2 separate regions of the Homo sapiens genome follow, and region 1 is linked to region 2. The links are contacts of gene promoters, found by promoter capture Hi-C in human tissues and cell types (Jung and others, 2019). All regions are on one chromosome and are shown on one strand. Each heading gives the region's core, a stretch centred on a gene start or on the middle of the fragment in contact. The rest is flanking DNA. Distances are from core to core; before and after follow the strand shown. Region 1 overlaps LOC105371775 (a long non-coding RNA gene). Region 2 holds the start of KRT32 (keratin 32).

Evidence for each region. Contacts are between HindIII fragments. The study calls those that stand out against the background at their distance.
Region 1: a fragment that was not itself captured here is called in contact with the fragment with the promoter of KRT32 in region 2 in 1 of the 25 tissues and cell types used here (lymphoblastoid cells).

What each region holds. Positions count from the first base shown.
Region 1 is chr17:40,677,490-40,684,879 of GRCh38, reverse strand. All of the region lies in intron 1 of LOC105371775 (a long non-coding RNA gene), which reads right to left. Among named protein-coding and RNA genes, the nearest start is that of KRT222, 16 kb to the right of the region's middle. The HindIII fragment of the contact is 3,576 bases long and covers 809-4,384 here.
Region 2 is chr17:41,466,110-41,473,454 of GRCh38, reverse strand. KRT32 (keratin 32) reads left to right here and starts at 6,069. Exons shown (of 7, transcript NM_002278.3): 1 at 6,069-6,597; 2 at 7,279-7,345. The coding sequence starts at 6,130. It also overlaps the pseudogene RNU2-32P. The HindIII fragment of the contact is 5,955 bases long and covers 5,416-7,345 here.

The sequences.
Region 1 (7,390 bases), core at 1,347-3,846, 790 kb after region 2:
TTCTCTTAGGCAATCTTCGCTCCACTCTCAGAAAACAGCCCTCAAAGCCAAGCTGATGGAATCAAAGGCCAAGCGCCAGCCTCAGGTAGAGGTTAGTGCCTGGAGACCCAGCTCCTTCAAGGGCATTGCAAGACCAAGGACCAGAGCCAGGCTAAATGCAGCTGCTGAAGGTCAAGGCGTGCCTGGTGAATGAAGCTGGGACCAACCACTGCCTGCTCACAGGGCTGAGCTGGTCTGCAAGAAGCTGTGGGTATGGTAAAGAAGGAGAGTAGTTAGGACTGGGGCACGTATAGGTCTCAATGACTCCTATTTACATTTTTAGCTAACCGCAACAAGGACATACAACCAGGGCTGAACAACCTCCACAGGGTTCATTCAGTAAGGATAATTTTTTTTTAATTTTTTGAGACAGAGTCTCACTCTGTCACCCAGGCTGGAGTGCAGTGGTGCGATCTCCGCTCACTGCAACCTCCACCTCCCGGTTCAAGTGATTCTTGTGCCTCAGCTTCCCAAGTAACTGGGACCAAAGGTGCGCACTACCACACACAGCTAATTTTTTGTATTTTTAGTAGAGGCAGGGTTCCGCCATGTTGGCCAGGCTGGTCTCGAACTCCTGACCTCAAGTGATCCACCCGCCTCGGCCTCCCAAAGTGCTGGGATTACAGGTGTGAGCCACCAGTAAGGACAATTTTCAATGCCCCATTCCAGCTCTAGGAAAGCAATGACCACGGCCTCGATTTATGAACCCAGCCCCTAGTCCATGCATTACCACCGGCTACAAGGTGCACCACAAATGTTTGCCCACCTGAATTGAAATTTAGGCAGAACTGTTGTTCTGCCAGACCGTCTGTGGAAACAAGTGTATTATATCCAACATATTAGATGATAAATAGTCATTTAGGGTGGTGTAATTCAAAAACAGAACGAATAAAACATAGAAAAAGCTAAAATTCAAAGACTTCAACATAGAGCTTTTTAAAAAAAAAAATCTCAGATATTACAATTTTTATGATACCTACAACAATCAAAACCAGAGTATAAGACTATCCTATTTTTCTTTTCAGTCATAAGTTTGAAACTGGATCAAAAAGAGGAAATAAAATCAAGGATAAGTTCTAAATACAAGTTTTCTATTATTCTATTTCATTTTCTTCAGAGGAACAGCGTACTCCAAAGTCTAAAAGTGTTGTTTTTATATGAATCCAATGTTTGTATTACCCAGTTAGAGTCATAAAATCAAGACTCTGGTTGTGGAATACTTTTACTGAGACATTTGTCAAAATAGCATTGTAATTTTTTTTCTTTCAACTTACACCTAAATAAACAGTAATAAATATCTTAGAAGCTATTGCTATATCACATTTAAATGGCTTTCCTTCAACATCGTTCACCTCAAAATCAAAAGGTGGAAATGCATTTTAATCCATATTTTCTTTGAAAGGTCAAAGGAGGTGAAGAAGGAAAGGAGATAGACTGAAGAAAGATGCATAATTGAAGACAAAAAGTTAATTAAACAAGAAGGTTTCAACTTGTAGGTTAGTTTAAGGCAGTGTTTTTCAAGCTGCAGGCTGCGATCCATTTACTTATGTATGTGTGTATGTATGTATGTATGTATGTATTTATTTTTGAGACAAGGTCTCACTCTGTCACCCAGGCTGGAGTGCAGTGGTGCAATCTCTGCTTACTGCAACCTCTGCCTCCGAGGTTCAAGCCATTCTCATGCCTCAGCCTCCCAAGAAGCTGGGATTACAGGTGTACTGGGCCATGATGTAAAATGATGCCTTTGTTCTTGTGGCTTGCAGTGGGAAAAGTTACAGCCTTTACTATAGAGTTTTCTTTATTTTTCCTTTCAGTTTTTACTTGAACTTAATTGTATGAAATGGATTGTGGGCCAAGCGTGGTGGCTCATGCCTGTAATCCCAGCACTTTGGGAGGCCAAGGCAGGTGGATCACCTGAGGTCAGGAGTTCGAGACCAGCCTAGCCAACATAGTGAAACCTCGTCTCTATTAAAAATACAAAAATTAGCTGGGCATGGTGGTGCATGCCTGTAATCCCAGCTACTCGGGAGGCTGAGGCAGGAGAATCACTTGAACTCTGGAGGAGGAGGTTGCAGTGAGCCGAGATCACACCACTGCACTCCAGCCTGAGTGACAGAGTGAGACTCCATTGAAAGAAAGAAAGAAAGAAAGAAAGAAAGAAAGAAAGAAAGAAAGAAAGAAAGAAAGAAAGAAAGAGAAAGGGATTGTGAATCTGTTTGCTATTGTTCTTGATGTCACTTCCTTCTCTATGACTGAGAATTCACTGGCATTCCTAGAAGAATTCAAACCCTTCATCGTTTGTTGAGCTAATTTCACTATGATTTCACCATATGCCACTTTCTTGCCTATATCATTGCAATGCCTCTCTACATAGGACTTGCTGTATTATAACAATGATAACAAAGACAACTACCATTTTTGGAGCACCCACTATGTAAACATAATTCCCACAGCAATTCTGTAGATGGGGCATGATCCCCATTGCATAGATGAGGAAACTGAAGTTCAGCGAGGTTAAATAGCTCACCCATGATCACAAAGCTCATCTGGGACAGAGTAAGCCAGGATCAAACCTTTTGAGGTTCCAAAATTCCAAGTGATAATCTCATTCCCATTTTTCATCCTCTCAACACTTTATGAAGTGAGTACTATTATTATCCCCAGTTTACAGATAAGGACACTATAATTTTCCCAAGTTATACAGTAACTTGGGAAGAGTTAGGATTCAAACCCTGAATCAAGCAGTATGTTCTTTTTCGTGTCTGGCTTCTTTCCCTCAACACGCCGTGTGCGCGATTCGTCTGTGCTACTGATGTGGTTGTAGATCATGTTATGCCTTTAATAAACACCTGTGTTAAGTGTTGGAGATACAAAGATGTGGTCCCTCTCTCGGAGAATTTACAGTCTAGAAGGAAAAATATATGCAAACATGTAGCTAACATAAAGTATTAACTACAATTCTGACTGAATTTTATCAAAGTCACTCCAAATTTGTGAAGCTTTAGAAAAGCAAAGATTAAAATCAATGAGATTTATATGCTTATCTTTCTCACTGTTGAAAGTAGGTAGAAAAGTTAATAAGTACCCAATACGAAAGCTGTCTTACTTTTGATTAAAGAGAAATGCTTTATCAATTTACTTTATTTCCATCAATATGTAATTGACCTAACACTTTCTTTTCGCAGAACCAACGAAATGTTTTGGCACAACACAATTGTTAAAGAACTGATTGATGGCATTGTTGTTTTATCACAAATAAGAGGTGTTCACCAAAGACCAGTTTAAGGAGCACCACACAAGCTAGCCACAAAAACTAAGACAAATAAAGCACCAAGAACCATTTAACCTTGGTCACGTATATTGGATAACTGAAGCAATGTATAGAGTGAAACTTTGCAAAAGCCATGAAGACAAGGGAATGTATTTCAACAATACTCATCTTTTTACACTAGGAAAAATAAAAGCCAGCAGGATATTTAGGGAATGTTTTTGCTCATCTTCAGTAATGTCATGTGAATGCACCCATCTACATTTTGGAATTTTTTAATCTTTGTGGACTTAACAAAAATGAGTACACTTCTAATTCAGAAGGTCTAACCTTGCAGTTTTTAGCTCTGGTCTGAAGCAATCAATTTGGGTCCAGTGCTTGGCTAAGCACTCCAGACTCCAGACAGTAAACAATAAGAGACAAATATTCCCTTCTAGAAGGTACAGCCCATCTGGAGATGTGGGAGATACTCTTGAAATAATTCAATGGCATCAGAATGTCACATAGAACTAAAAGTAGTAAGTAGCACAGATGATAAGTGCCTGGGAACTCACAGATAATAATTCAATATGGGCCAAAGAGGCCAGTAAAAAACTCATGAAGCTGTGAATTAAAGCTCCAATATTATAGCATTTTACACCCACCAGCAAGTGGAAATTAAAAAGACTATACCAAGTATTAACATGAACAGGAAGCAGCTGGGGCTGGGCACAGTGGCTCATGCCTGTAATGCCAACACTTTGGGAGGCCGAGGCAGGAGGCTCACTTGAGGTCAGGAGTTTGAGACCAACCTGGGCAATGTAGTGAGATCTCCTGGAGATCTCCTGGAGACTCTTAAGAGCTTCTTTGAGGAGTACAGACTCATCTTAAGGATCACAGGGAACTCTTGAAATCTTAGGCTTTGTAGTAATCTATCAGGGGTTGCAAAAGAAAATATGCAAGGGTTGCCTAAGAAAATTAATATGCATCTGTATGCCAGATGAATTGGAGTGGTAGGGATGGAAACTAGAGATGAAGTCAGAAGGTTACTTTAGCAATTTAACAATAAATTGAAATTTTTCTGGACTGAAATAATCCCAGGAGAAGTGAAAAATCTGGGAGACAAGATTTGGCTTATTAGACCTTAAAGAGCTAAGACAGTTTAAGCAAAATTTCTAAAATTTCAAGGTGGAATAAAAGTTGGAAAGTTGGCAGGAAGAGCAGAATTAGAAGAAAAGATGATATGGCAAGCTATAGGTATACTGAGTTTGATATAACAAAGGAACACCTAACTAGAAATATACAATAAAAAAAAATCAGGCCAGGTGTGGTGGTTCACGCCTGTAATCCCAGCACTTTGGGAGGCCGAGGTGGGTGGATTACTTGAAGTCAGGAGTTTGAGACCAGCCTGGCCAACATGGCAAAACCCTATCTCTACTGAAAATACAAAAATTAGCCCAGCATGGTGGGGCATGCCTGTAATCTCAGCTACTTGGGACGCTGAGGCAGGAGAATCACTTGAACCTGAGAGGCAGAGGTTACAGTGAGCTGAGATCACACCACTCCCCTCCAGACTGGGTGGCAGAGTGAGACTCCATATCAAAAAAACAAACAAACAAAAAAAAGAACAAATGGGCAATTACACTAAAAAAAAAAAAATATATATATATATATAGCATGAAAAACACGTCTTTATTTTAATGAAAATGTATTATTCATAGCAAAATTTCTATCCACATGACAAACATTTAGAATCAGAGTGCATTTCTAAAATCACTTTACAACTAATAAAACTCTAGAAATTCAGAACTATATATGATATTTTGAGGTGTTAATTATCTCAACCGAAGAACCACAACAGGGAAGTCCTTTCTATAAGTGAGTCACACAAAAAAAATACATACATGACATATTTAGACACAAATTATGCAGTTAAGTGTGTCTTGTAGATACCCTACTCAATTTAAAAACCATGTATTGATCATTTACAACATGCAAGTACAGTAATAAGGTAACATAGCTAAATTATCAGAGGTATCAAAGAAAAAGCACACAGTTGAAAAAGTGGTGAATTCTGGTTGTTGTTTGTTTGTTTCCTCAAGCTCTAAGATTGACACTTAGGATTTCTCAAAGACAACTGAAAATGTTTTCCTAATTCTGAAACAGTACTGACTTCAATGACCATCTCTTTTGAGGTATGAGGCACAGGAGGGAGGGGAACAGGGTTGAAAAACTAACTGTTGAGTACTATGCTCAGTACCTGGGTGATGGGATTACTTGTACCCCAACCCTCAGCATCACACAATATACCCTGGTAATAAACCTGCACATGGACTCCCCTGATTCTAAAATAAAAGTTGGAAAAAAATAAAAAAGGTATGAGTCACTCGTTTTGTGGCTACTTGCAGAAGTTTCAAAGATAATGATTTTCAAAGGTAACAAAGCTTGTGACACTGGTATGTCAGCATATCATCACATTTCATTTCTGAAGTCAGCAGTGAGAGATGGCGCCAAGCCACCAGTGAGAAGAGACGTTTGAAAAAAACAATTAAGAAGGAACTGAAGCTTGATGGATTAGCATAATGAATTTTTCTGAAGGCAACAGTGTGAAAAATATTTGTAAAGGTGTGGCAGAATCTGAAATCACGAATCATCTATTCTCACCCTGACAACAGTTTTCTTTTTCATATAGGCTGGACTAAATTTCGCGAAGTTCATTAATTTTCAAATGTAATTGTTTGCAATTTAAGCCAAAAGACATCTTAAAATCTGTTAAATTTTTTAACGTGGGACAGTGATATAAGAAGCCAAAAAGAAAGAAAAGTCAAACTGGGGGGGCCAAAAAAAATAATTACCAGGAAATAAGAAGTGTTCACAAATTTCAGAACGCTTTGTCTCACCAAAGAGCATAGTATTACAAAACTACAGTCTTCAAGAAAATAGTAACTATGTTAAGTACTGAAGCAGAAAATAAGTTATGCACACTTTTATCTTACTACCAGATTATTTTTCACAGATAGCACAAAACTTATTGATTGCTAACTATCCAAATGTATGGTAATAAACTAATATAGCTTAACTATCAAAGGTATCATATAGAACCATACAGTTGAAAAAAGGATGGATTCTGTCTTAGTCGTTAACACTGAGAATTTATCAAAGAGAACTGGAAATTAATTCTTTCTTTCTTTCTTTCAAAATTGGGTCCTGCTCTGTCACCCAGGCTAGAGTGCAGTGGTGAGACCATAGCTCACTGTAACCTCAAACTCCTGGGAGCTAGGACTATAGGCATGTGCCACCATGCCTGGCTAATTTTTTTTTTTTTTTTTTTTTTTTTGGAGAGACGAGGTCTTGCCGTGTAGCCTAGGCTGGTCTCGAACTCCTGGCCTCAAGCAATCCTCCCACCTCAGCCTCCCAGAGTTCTGGGTTTACAGGTGTGAGCCACTGTGCTTGTCCTGGAAATGTTTTTCCAATTCTCAAACAGTGTTGATATCAGTGACTACCTTTTTCAAGGCATGAGTTGCTAGTCTTATGGCTATTTAAGGAGGTTTCAAAGACAATGATTTTGGGGAATAAAAACTAGTGTTTTCTCCAAGCATTCGGAATTATTTATGGAAATAGAAGTATTATATTCATGTAAAATGATATGGTCTATAGATGTAACTTAGTTGCCTTAAACTGTGTAATTGCTGGTATACCATATTAGTGTCTTTAATCTGAACACAACCTCACATCCAAGAGGAAAAGCTTATCATTCACAACAGTAATTCCTGAGTGAGCTACTCCTCTCTAATTATACAATTAGAAAGTCAAAACAAACTTGAACCTTGCAATGTATATTCCCAGAACTCAAAACATATTTTTAAGAGAATTTTAACAGTAATCAACTCCTTTTCAAGACAAGATACAAAGTCAATAAAAGATTGCCTACTTTAATATTCATTTGTTTGTTTAAAAACATTAAGCACTAAGTCTAAGGGGCTGGTGGGACGACGGAAATGGGGCAAATTTTAAAGAAATGTAAGACACGCACTCTTTGCCCTTAAGGACAATCTGGTTAAGAAGAAAACAATTACCAAGTATATTTAACCCCACTTAAAGGTG
Region 2 (7,345 bases), core at 4,820-7,319:
CGGGGTTTCACCGTGTTAGCCAGGATGGTCTTGATCTCCTGACCTCGTGATCTGCCCGCCTGGGCATCCCAAAGTGCTGGGATTATAGGTGTGAGCCACTGCACCTGGCCTCAATCTGCTTTTATATGAAACCTGGTCTTTCCTTCACAACGGAAAACTCTGCTCACGCTGGCATTTGGGACTGCACCTCACAGCGACAGCCTCTCAGCATCATCCTGGAGCCCCTGCTCCTGGTTCCTGTCTCTCTCCTCCTCATTCCTTCCTTCCAGGATTGTCCTGTGAACTTCAAATCCTTCTCTCCTTTCACCCTCTGATGTCTTACCAGCCAAATCAAGGCATTAGGGTCCCACCTTTTAACCCAAGATCTTCTTAATGTAGTTTCCCAAGTAAAGACATTTTTTTTCCTGCAAGATGAATTCTGGTGACAGCTGTTAAAATATATGCAGGCACACTTCGATTTATTGAGTTTCAATTTATTATACTTCCCAGATATCGTTTTTTTTTCTTTTTTCTTTCTTTTTTTTTTTTTTTTTTTACAAATTAAAGTTTTGTGCCAATCCTGCCTAGAGCAAGTCTGTTGGTGCTAATTTTTCCAACAGCATGTGCTTATGTGTCTCTGTGTCACATTTTGGTAATTCTCACAATACAAATTTTTTCTTTTTCTTTTTTTTTGAGACAGAATCTGGCTGTCTGCCCAGGCTGGAGTGCAGTGGCGTGATCTCGGCTCACTGCAACCTCTGCCTCCTGGGTTCAAGCAATTCTCGTGCCTCAGCCTCCCAAGTAGCTGGGATTACAGGCACACCACGCCTGGCTAATTTTTGTAATTTCAGTAGAGATGGGGTTTCGTCATGTTGGCCAGGCTGGTCTCGAACTCTTGACCTCAAGTGATCTGCCCACCTCAGCCTCCCAAAGTGCTGGGATTACAGGTGTGAGCCACTGCGGCTGGCCAAACTTTTTCATTATTGTATGTGTTATGGTGATCTGTGGTCAGTAATCTTTGATATTACTGTTGTAATTGTTCTGGGATGCACCAAACCATGCCCAGATAAGATGGGGAACCTAACTGATAAACGTTGCGTGCGTTCTGATGGCTCCACCAACTGGCCATTCCCCCATCTCTCTCCCTATTTTGGGTCTACCTATTTTCTGAGACACAGCAATATTGAAATTAGGCCAATTAATAACCCTACCGTGGCTTCTAAGAGTTCAAGTGAAAGGAAAAGTTGCAGGTTTCTCCCTTTAAATAAAAAGCTAGAAATGATGAAGTTTAGGGAGGCGGCATCTTTCATAGCTAGACAGGAGGAGTCTGCCTTCAAAACCTTCAAAGGATGGGCTGACTCTCTTGCTAGGAGCTAATGCAGCTGATGACTTCAAGTGGGAAGTCAATGCTCATTTACCATTCTGAATATCCTAGGGCACTTAAGAATGATGCTAAATCTTTTCTGCCTGTGCACTACAAACGGAACGACAAAGCCTGGACGACAGTGCATCTGTTTATAACATGGTTTACTGAATATTTTAAGCCCACTGTTGAGACCTACTGCTTAGAATAAAAGGTTTCTTTCAAAATATTTCTGCTCATTGACAATGCATCTGATCACCCAAGAGCCCTGATGGAGCTGTCCAAGGAGATTAATGTTTTTGTGTTTGCCAACACAACATCCATTCCACAGCCCATGGATCAAAAACTAATTTTGACTTTCAAGTCTTATTACCTAAGAAATATATTTCATAAGGCTATAGCTGCCATACAGAGTGATTCCTCTGATGGATCTGGGCAAAGTAAATTGAAAACCTTCTGAAGAGGATTCACTATTCTATATGTCAATATTTGTGATTCAAGAGAGGAGGTCAAAATATCAACATTAACAGGAGTTTGGAAGAAGTTGATTCCAACTCTCATGTATGATGTTGAGGGGCTTAAGACTTCAGCAGAGGAAGTAACTATAGATGTGTTGGAAACAGCAAGAGAATTAAAATTAGAATTGGAGCCTGAAGATGTGACTGAATTGTTGCCATGTTATGGCAAAACGAACGGATGAGGAACTGCTTCTTATTCATGAACAAAGAAAGTGGTTTCTTGAGATGGAAACTACTCCTGGTGAAGATGCTGTGAACATCACTGAAATGGCAACAAAGGATTTGGAATACTACATCAATTTAGTTAATAAGGCAGTGGCAGGGTTTGAGAGGACTGACCCTAGTTTTGAAAGAATTTCTACTGTTAAAATGCTATCAAACAGCATCACATGCTACAGGGAAATCTTTCATGAAAGGAAGAGTCAACTGATGCGGCAAACTTCACTGATGTCTCATTTTCAGAAATTGCCACAGCCACACTAACTTGCAGCAATCATCACCCTGATCAGTCCTCAGCCATCAACATTGAGGCAAGACCTTCCACCAGCAAAAAGATTATAACTTGCTGAAGGCTCAGATGATCCTTAGCATTTTTAGCAATAAAGCATTTTTAAAATTAAGTTATATACATTGTTTTTAGGCCATAATGCTATGGTACACTTAATAGACTATAGTATAGTGTAAATATAATGTTTACATACACAGAAAAACCAAAAAGTTTGTGTGACTCACTTTATGGTTACATTTGCTTTATTGTGGTGGTCTAGAACTGAACATGCACTATCTCTGAGGTATGCCTGTATCTTCCTCTATCTCAGTGGGTCTCCAAACCACCTGAAGGACATGCTAAACACAGGCTGCTGCATCCCAGCCCCAGCCTCAGAGTTTCTGATTCAGCCAGTCTGGGATGAGCCTGAAAAACTGCATTTCTTTTTTTTTTACATTTTATTTTTATTTTTATCAAAGCAGTGTATCTACATTGTTTAAATAAAACAACATTAAATAGCAAATATTTAAAAACTGCAACATCTATGCCTTCTTTCTTTCTTTATTGTTATTATACTTTAAGTTTTAGGGTACATGTGCACAATGTGCAGGTTAGTTACATATGTATACATGTGCCATGCTGGTGTGCTGCACCCACTAACTCGTCATCTAGCATTAGGTATATCTCCCAATGCTATCTCTCCCCCGTCCCCCCACCCCACAACAAATGAGAACACATGGACACAGGAAGGGGAACATCACACTCTTTTTTTTAAAAATTTTACTTTAAGTTCTGGGATGCATTTGCAGAATGTGCAGGTTTGTTGCATAGGTATACATGTGCCATGGTGGTTTGCTGCACCTATCAACCCATCATCTAGGTTTTAAGCCCCGCATGCATTAGGTATTTGTTCTAATGCTCTCTCTCCCCTTGCCCCCCATCCCCCGACAGGCCCTGGTGTGTGATGTTCCCCTCCCTGTGTCCATGTGTTCTCATTGTTCAACTCCCACTTATGAGTGAGAACATGTGGTGTTCGGTTTTCTGTTCCTGTGTTGGTTTGCTAAGAATGATGGTTTCCAGCTTCATCCATGTCCCTGCAAAAGACACGAACTCATTCTTTTTTATGGCTGCATAGTATTTCATGGTATATATGTGCCACATTTTCTTTATCCAGTCTGTCATTGATGGGCATTTGGGTTGGTTCCAAGTCTTTGCTATTGTAAATAGTGCTGCAATAAACATACTTGTGCATGTGTCTTTATAGTAGAAAGATTTATAATCCTTTGGGTATATACCCAGTAATGGGATTGCTGGGTCAAATGGTATTTCTGGTTTTAGATCATTGAGGAATCACCATGCTGTCTTCCACAATGGTTGAACTAATTTACACTCCCACCAACAGTGTAAAAGCTTTCCCATTTCTCCACAGCCTTGCCAGCATCTGTTGTTACCAGACTTGTTAATGATCACCATTCTAACTGGCATGAGATGGTATCTCATTGTGGTTTTGATTTGCATTTCTCTAATGACCAGTGATGATGAGCTTTTTTTCATATGTTTCTTGGCCACATAAATGTCTTCTTTTGAGAAGTGCCTGTTCATATCCTTTGCCCACTTTTTGATGGGGTTGTTTGTTATTTTCTTGTAAATTTGTTTAAGCTCCTTGTAGATTCTGGATATTAGACCTTTGTCAGATGGGTAGATTGCAAAAATTTTCTCCAATTCTATAGGTTGCCTGCTGACTCTGATAACAGTTTCTTTTGCTGTGCAGAAGCTCTTTAGTTGAATTAGATCCCATTTGTCAACTTTGGCTTTTGTTGCAATTGCTTTTGCTGTTTTAGTCATGAAGTCTTTGCCCATGCCTATGTCCTGAATGGTATTGCCTAGACTTTCTTCTAGGGTGAAAACTCACATTTCTAACATGTTCCTGAGTCAGGTTGATGCTGAGAGTGACTGATAACACCTTATTATAATAATTATAGTTTTTGGGTGAGAGGATTAAATGGGCAAATTAATGCCAAGCACTCAGCACCATGCCTGGTATTTGTATACATTCCACAAGTGCTGGCTATGATTCTGAAGGGTGGCCTGATGAGTCTCATCCCTTGTAGTTGGTATTGCCATCACACCTCCTTCCATCTGATGCTATAATCTTCTCTAAATAGGTAATCCAGACAAGGTACTGGAATTTGTAGTTGTTGCAGAGAATCAAATTGTGAGAGTATTTGATCTGACCCCCTCGATTGGCATGAAGAAACTGAGGTCTGGAGAGACAAAATTACTTTCCCAAGGCCAAATGGCAAGTCAGAGGCAGTATATCTACGCTCTCCTTTTCTTATGCAATGAATGAGCTGGGTGGCATTTTCCCTTTCCTGTTCTTGTACTGACATTTCTGGGAATATGTGAAACATAAGGCAAGTACTTATACCCCAAAATTATATCAAGAAGATTACTGAATAAAAAAGTGGCTATATAGCACACACATACTAAATGTGAAGCTCACAGCTTTTGCAGCCAGGACTGAAAACCACTGCTCTAGCATGTTGCCTTCTTAAGTGAATGCCCAGGGCTTCTATAGTTGGGCAAATATGCTCCCTGTCTCCTGGCTTAGCTCATTCCAGGGCTATAGAACATCCTTTCCCAAGGGAGTGGATTCACACTGCTTCCATAGTCTGAGATCCTGAAGTGAGCCTTCCCCATCTGCCACAACAGAAAGTAAAAGTAGAACCTGTTCCAACTATTCTCAGTCTGTTCAACAAACAATTATTGAGCACTTGACAATTGTGTATATGGTGCAGTGATAATTGAATGGATGGTCCAGAGGGGGTCAAGACAGAGCAGCTGCCACCTGGAGATGTTCATGATATGGACTTTTCCAAGAGGAAGAGACCAACTGGAAAGATGTACCTGATTCTTAGGCTTCTGTTTGGGTCTTTTTTTTTTTTTTTTTTTTGCCTTTTGAAGGGGTGCAGCATTCCTGGAGGTACTGCAATACCAGGTCAACATGTAGAGTGAACAGAGCAAGCTCTTATTCCATCTCCCTGCTCCCAAAATCCATTTAATATGTTGTCCTCAGATGGAGGACGTATCAGATATTAAGACGATAAGAACAGATACCACACTTGATCTTAGCCAAAAGGCTGAGAAGTGATGCTGCCTATGTCTTGAGTTCATTCTCTCCCCACTGATATTATTTTCTTCCCCTTGGCAGGAAGATGATGTCTGTTAGGAAGCCTCTGAGGTTCCTGTTCCTTTCTGCTGGATTTATGCCGCTGCCAGCATCGGAGCAGTTTCTACCACCCACACATTTCCTTGTTAAATAGCCAGGCCTCTTCCCATGGGGAATGCTTTCATTAAAAGAGGCAGCCACTGCTGCACAGACCTGCAGGCTTCTCAGGGCTAGAGCAGGCGGGGGTGCAGTGGGCAAAGCCAGTGGAGGCACAGGCTGGGTTGTGGCAGTCTCCTGGAGGGCCTGCCCTAGTAATGAGGGCCCAGGCATGCGGCTGACCCTTTGAAGATGTGTCCTGAAGCTCTCTCATGGTGATCAATGACAGGAACCCAGACTCCTGCTTTAGCCAAATGATAAGTTTGGCCTCTTTTATTGGAAACCAAATTACAAATTAATTAGCAGCTTCCTCTGGGGCTGGGTGTGAACATCAACACCACCCAATGATGAATTTCTATCATGAGCCCCCTCACTGCAAGGGCATAAAATGGCCCGGGCGGCATGGGGTCTGTAGACATCCAGGTAGCTGTGGCTGAGGAGAAAGGGCCTCTCCAACATGACATCCTCCTGCTGTGTCACCAACAACTTGCAAGCCTCTCTCAAGAGCTGCCCCCGGCCTGCCTCGGTCTGTTCCAGCGGCGTGAACTGCCGGCCTGAGCTGTGCCTGGGCTATGTCTGCCAGCCCATGGCATGCCTGCCTTCGGTCTGCCTGCCCACCACCTTCCGGCCAGCCAGCTGCCTCTCCAAAACCTATCTATCCAGTTCCTGCCAGGCAGCCAGTGGCATCTCCGGCTCCATGGGCCCCGGCAGCTGGTACAGCGAAGGGGCCTTCAATGGCAATGAGAAGGAAACCATGCAGTTCCTTAACGACCGCCTGGCCAGCTACCTGACGAGGGTGCGGCAGCTGGAGCAGGAGAATGCGGAGCTGGAGAGCAGGATCCAAGAGGCCTCTCACTCCCAGGTGCTCACCATGACTCCTGACTACCAGTCTCATTTCAGGACCATTGAGGAGCTCCAGCAGAAGGTGAGGGCAGCGGTGAGGTGAATAGGCTCTCTGGGAAGGGAACTGGACTAGCTGGCATTCCAGATTGGAATCTCGTTAGCTTATTAAGCTATGTTCAGGACAAAGAGACTTCCCTAGGGCATAGGGTTATTTTATAATTTGAGCACTCAGCCTGAGGCTTTCATGTGGAGAGATCTGGGATCTAGTCTCAGTTCTACCATTGCCTCATTGCATGACTTTGGGGGTCCCATCCCTTCCCCAGGCCTCAGTTTTCTCATCTGTAAAACAGGGATAATAATGGTCGTTATCTAATGGGGTTGTCAAAAGGATTTGATGAGATGATGCAGGTCAAGTGCTTGGAACAGCCCCTGGTCCACGGTAAGTTTTCAGTAAATGTCAAAGACCCTTCTAACTGTCACATGAGTGACTTCAGACATGAGATTCTTCCCTTCCACATTGCTTGGCACATCCAAAATGGGGAATTTGAATTTACGAAGCTTCAGGTTCTTAAAAAATACATCTCAAGTTCTCCAAGGACTAGCAATTCGCTAAATATCTCCCAGAGTTCCAGGGAAGAGGACCTTCTGCAGGGATGGCTGCAGGGCTGCTGGATCCTACCTTTGCTGCTGTCTTCTCTTCATTTGGGTTCTTCTTGCTTCGTCTCATCCTGAACTAACCCTCTCCATGTGCCTTGGCCTACAGATTCTGTGTACCAAGGCAGAGAATGCCAGGATGGTTGTGAACATTGATAATGCCAAACTGGCTGCCG